Regions from separate parts of the Homo sapiens genome. Here region 1 is linked to region 2. Evidence: promoter capture Hi-C in human tissues and cell types (Jung and others, 2019). All regions are on one chromosome and are shown on one strand. Each heading gives the region's core, a stretch centred on a gene start or on the middle of the fragment in contact. The rest is flanking DNA. Distances are from core to core; before and after follow the strand shown. Region 1 has its middle 23 kb from the start of MCHR1. Region 2 holds the start of MGAT3 (beta-1,4-mannosyl-glycoprotein 4-beta-N-acetylglucosaminyltransferase).

Region 1 (2,789 bases), core at 76-2,575, 1.2 Mb after region 2:
TCCTCTGGGAGGGGTACACTCCCCTTATCAGGGGGGTGAAAATATCCCTTATCACCAGAGACTGGAAGTTGGGGGCTGCAGTGCAGTGGACCTGAACAACTATACTTCATGAAGTAACCTTTATTTTCTTTTCCTTTTTTTTTTTTTTTGAGACAGAATCTGTCTCACCCAGGCTGGAGTGCAATGGCACAATCTCGGCTCACTGCAACCTCTGCCTCCCGGGTTTAAGAGATTCTCCTGCCTCAGCCTCCCGCGTAGCTGGGATTACAGGCATGCACCAACAGGCCTGGCTAATTTTTGTACTTTTAGTAGAGATGGGGTTTCACCATTTTGGCCAGGCTGGTCTCAAACTCCTGACCTCAGATGATCCGCCTGCCTCGGCCTGCCAGAGTGCTGGGATTACAGGTATGAGCCACTGCACCTGGCGCCCGAAATGACCTTTCTATTCTGCTGGTTGTATACCCTCCCATACATCTCCCGGTGACTCCCTTAGAAATTTACTGCCCGTAACCAGATCCCTTTTGCCCTGTTATTTCTTCTCAAATGTATTGTTCTTTGTCGAAAAAGTATAAATGCATCTTACTTTGGCCACTTCTTCAGACTTCACTCTTGTGAAGATCCCTGTGTACATGGAAAACTAATAAAGCTTATATGCTTTTATCTTGCTACTCTGCCTTGTGTCAATTTGGTCTCTAGATATAGCTGAGAGCCCACATAAGAGGCACATGAGGTTGGAGGTGATCTCTCACTCTGCTGCAAAACAAAGCCCTAACCCCCAAATGTGTTAGTATCTGGAGATGGAGTCTTTGGGAAGCGATCCGGTTTAGAGGAAGTCTTGAGGGTGTGGCCCTTATAAGAAGAGACATCAGAAAGCTTGCTTCCCCTCTGCCTCTCTCCACCTGCACACTTCTGTGAGGATACAGAAGACTGATGTCTGCAAGCCAGAAAGAGTCTTTTATTTATTTATTTATTTTTGAGATGGAGTCTCACTCTGTCACCCAGGCTGGAGTGCAGTGGCACAATTTCAGCTCACTATACTTTCTGAAGTAACCTTTCTTTTTTTTTTTGAGACAGAATCTCCCTCTTTCGCCCAGGCTGGAGGGCAATGGCGCAATCTCGGCTCACTGCAACCTCCACCTCCCGGGTTCAAGCGATTCTCCTGCCTCGGCCACCTGAGTAGCTAGGATTACAGGTGCCCACAACCAAGCCCAGCTAAATTTTGTATTTTTAGTAGAGATGGGGTTTCACCATGTTGGCCAGGCTGGTCTTGAACTCCTGACCTCAGGTGATCCGCCCACCTCGGCCTCCCAAAGTGCTGGGATTACAGGCATGAACCACCACACCCGGCCAAGTCTGGCCAGGAAGAGAATCCTCAGCAGGAATGCAATTGGCTGGCACTTTGATCTGGGACTTCCCAGCCTCCAGAATCAGGAGAAATAAATGCCTGTTGTTTAAGCCGCCCGGTATTTTATTATATCAGCCTGAGCTGACTAAGATGATTTGTGAGAGCTTTTTTTGTTGTTGTTGTAAATGTTAGAAATTTAACTCTGATTTGAGCAAAAAGGGGGAATGTATTGGCTTATTAAAGGGAAACGTTGAGGACTAGATCTGGCTTTAAGTCATGACTGGATCCAAGGGCTCAAGGCCATCGGGACAGACATTCCCTTTCTCTCTTCCTCACATTTTATTTTATTTTATTTATTTATTTTTTGAGATGGAGTCTCGCTCTGTCATCCAGGCTGGAGTGCAGTGGTGCAATCTCAGCTCACTGCAACCTCTGCCTCCCAGGTTCAAGCAGTTCTCTGCCCCAGCCTCCCGAGTAGCTGGGATTACAGGCCCTCGCCACCACGCCCAGCTAATTTTTTTTTTTTTTTTTTTTGTATTTTTAGTAGAGACAGGGTTTCACCATCTTGGCCAGGCTGGTCTTGAACTCCTGACCTGTGATCCACCCACCTCAGCCTCCCAAAATGCTGGGATTACAGGCGTGAGCCACCGCGCCCACCCTCTTCCTCACGATTTATCTCTCCTCACTGTCTGGCTCAGTTTTCCTCTCTTTTGGCTTCCTTCTCATAGGGGATGTTCTCCCAAGTGGTAGCAAAGATGGTGCCCAGCAGGCATGTAAACTTGCCTTGTTCCTACTGGCAGCAGCTCCAGGAATTAGCATATCTTCTTTCCTGCTACCCGGTACTCCTTGCCACCTTTCTCCCCAGTGTCTGTTTCAAACCCTGAATAAGCCTCTGATTGGTCCTGTATGAGTTACATATCTTCCCACTTCCACCCAATCAAGCATGAAAACCAGAGAAGTGGAACACACTTATTGGCTAGGATCAGTCACATGGGTATCCCCACTGTGTCCTTGTCTGTGTCTCAGCTTGATACATTCTGTGTTCTCAGATCCTCCTGGGGTCTGTTTTGCAACATGTGACAAGAAAGTAATCTGGGCTTGTTGAAGTGGCTCATGCCTGTAATGCCAACACTTTGTGAGGCCAAGGCAGGAGGATCACTTGAGCCCAGGAGTTTGAGACCAGCCTGGACAACATAGGAAGACCCCATCTCTATTAGAAACAAAGAAAGTTTAAAGTAGATTTAGAGGTTGAAAAAAAAATAAGAAGAAAGAAAGTAACCTGGTTGCAATTACGTGGTTGTAACAGCAGCCTGGAGACAAACCAATTCATTGCAAAAGGGAAAAACGAGAGAGTTTGGTTCATGGCAGTTCTGCTGTCTCTCTATCCTAGTCTCTCCAGAAAAAAAGGCCCAAAAGCTAAATGCCGGCAACATTACCAACCCTG
Region 2 (2,700 bases), core at 71-2,570:
AATTCAAATTTTTGTGTCCATAAAGTTTTATTGGAACACCGCCAGGCTCATTCTTTTACGTATTGTCTATGGTTGATTTTATGCTACGATGGCAGAGTTGAGTAGTTGGGACAGAGACCATATGGCTGGCAAAGCCTAAAAGATTTACAATCAATCTCTTAAAGCAAATGGTTTGCCCACCCTTGCTTAGAGAGAGCCTCCAGGAAGAAAAGAGCAGTGAGGGTGACGTTGAAGAAGGGGGCAAGACTAGGTCACCAGGGGCTCCCTGTGCCCCGCCCAGGCACTGAACTTAAGCTGAGGGCAAGTGGGAGCCATTGAAGGTGCAGGCAGGAGAGTGACCTGCTCAAGTGAATGTTGGAGTAGGATCACTCTGCCTCCTCAGCAAGGATGGATGAAGCTGGGCACGGAGGCACCTGGAGCAGGTAGACCAGCCCTAGGCAGCCCGGATGGTTCAGCAAAGGCCTCTGGGACTATTCTGGAGCACATTCGCTGGGATATAGAATAGGTAGCGCATCCCTGCACCTTCGACGATGGCGGCGCAGAGATGTCTGCTGCGTACCCACAATGCCTTGTGCCTCGCACCGCGGGAGGAAGTGGCTGCTCTGTAGGCCCCAGAACGGAACCACTTGAAAGGCGGGAAACACGTGGGGGACGCCTCTGAGCCCTGAGAGGAATGGCCTAGAGCAAGGCCACGAGGAGCCAGGGCACGACACGGTGGGCCCTCGGAGAACCGCTGGTGGGCAAGTGGCAGGAGAGTAGGCTCAAGAGGGTTGGCAGGGCCGACCGGGCCTAGGGTGGCCGGGTGAGGGGGGCGGGGGAGGGGAGGCCCCCCCAGTTACCCCAGGAGTGCGCAGGTGGCTTCGGGCATGTGAGGGACGGAGGGGGTCGGACGGAAGGACACAGGCCGGTGTACAGCGGTCACCCACGCCCCAAGCAGACACACAGACTCTGCAGACACCGTAACAGGCCCGGCACCGTGCACACATCACAGGCCCAGGCCTCTGCACATGGTCACAGATGCCTATGCGAAATCCCGGCCCAGGTTCACGCGGGCACAGGCGCATCCACGCACACACCGCAACACGGATCTGCACGTCCATGCACACACAGGCACAGACTCGGGCACACGGAGTCACACCGACCCGGGCACGCTGCGGAACGCACCCGTCCACGCATACACAGAACGGGACTTGCTGCCCCGCACGCACACCAGGCCCGCACTCCGAACTACCCGCATTCCCCGCACACGCCCCCGCGCAGGCCGCCCCGGGCCGTGGGCCGGCGCACGCACGGTCACAGGAGGGGCGCGCGCACACTCGCACTCACACACACTCGCTCGCACACGCACACACTCGATCCAGCACGCGCGGGCGGCGCGGGGCGGCGGCGGCCGGAGTCTGCGGTGCGAGGCGCCCCCGGCCCGGCGCGGCGGCGGAGCCCGGCTGGCGGGGGAGGGGAGGGGGTTGCGGAGGGGGCGGGGTGGGGGCCGGAGCCGCTTGAGCCGGCGGGAGCGGGCACCCCTGCGCGCCGCGCTCGGCCTCGCCTCCGCGCCCCCCGCGCGCCCGCCGCGGTCCCTCCCCCGCGCCCGTCCGCTCGCCGGGCCCCCGCCGCCGCCCCGGGGTGCAGCCGAGCGGCCGCGCCGGGTCCCCGGGACGGGGTGGAAGTGGGGGTGGGGGGAGGGGATCGGGGCCGGGCCGGGGCCGCGCTGCCTGCGATGCCGGGCGCCCGCCGCAGCCGCTGCCGCCGGAGCCCGGGATGGGGCGAGAGGCTGCGGCGGACGCCAGCATCTCCCCGCCGGGGACCCCGGGGGCCGCGGAGCCGCCGCCGCCGCTGCTGCCGCCGTTGCTGAGACCCAGCGGGCGATGGGTGAGTTGACCCCGGCGTCCTGGGGGGCGCCGCGGCCCCTCTATCCCCGCGCTGCCCGCCCTCCCGCGCTGCGCTTGGCGCCCCCCGCCCGGCTCCGCGGCCCACTCCCCGAGCGTGACCTTAGGGGGCGGGCGCGGGCGCACTGGGGCTGGGGGCCCGGAGGCCGCGGTGGGGGCGGGATGCCGGGGAAGCCGCTCGGCGCGGGCCCCCTCCCCCTACCCGCCGCTCCTCCGAGCTCCCCGGTCCCCGGAGGGCAGAGCCTCAGCGCCCGACCCCCTCCCACGGCCGGGCGGGGGACGTCCCCGAGGCGCGGGGCTCGAGCCGTGCTTTGTGCGCGGCACCCCCCAGCCTCCGGCGCGGCTCCCCCACAACCTCCGGCGCGGCGCGGGGCTGGGGTGGGAGGCCTCCGCGCCCGCCTTCCCCACCCCCGACCCCAGACTGCGGCGGCGGCAGCCGAGGCCCAAGCGCAGTCGGGGGCTGGGCGGGTGCGGGGGCTGCGGCCGTAGCTACCCCTGGGGACCAGGCAGAGGCAAATGTGGAGAGGGCCCCCGGCCATTTACCGGGGTGGGGGCCCCCGGCTCCTTGCATTGCTCTGCCCAGGGCGGGGGAGGGAACCTGGCTGAGGGAGGGCGCTATAAATATCTGCAAATAGTGAGTTCTGGAACCGGGAGTGGGGAGGGGAGTGCGCCTGGGTGTGTGTATGGTGGGGTTCCTGAGCTGGGGTGCAGCAGGAAGGGATGCCGCGCGGCCAGACCTAGTGGTCTGAGGTCGGATGACCCCCAGCCCCGGAAGATGCCCCTGAAGGCCCCTGATGGGGTGTGGGCAGACACACTA

What was found. Contacts are between HindIII fragments. The study calls those that stand out against the background at their distance.
Region 1: a contact is called between a fragment that was not itself captured here and the fragment with the promoter of MGAT3 in region 2, in 1 of the 25 tissues and cell types used here (spleen).

Annotation. Positions count from the first base shown.
Region 1 is chr22:40,701,008-40,703,796 of GRCh38, forward strand. No RefSeq gene overlaps it. Among named protein-coding and RNA genes, the nearest start is that of MCHR1, 23 kb to the left of the region's middle. The HindIII fragment of the contact is 6,289 bases long and covers 1-2,789 here.
Region 2 is chr22:39,455,692-39,458,391 of GRCh38, forward strand. It overlaps MGAT3 (beta-1,4-mannosyl-glycoprotein 4-beta-N-acetylglucosaminyltransferase), which reads left to right and starts at 1,321. Exons shown (of 2, transcript NM_002409.5): 1 at 1,321-1,866. RefSeq lists silencers at 1,247-1,306, 2,037-2,306, 2,317-2,446. The HindIII fragment of the contact is 12,980 bases long and covers 1-2,700 here.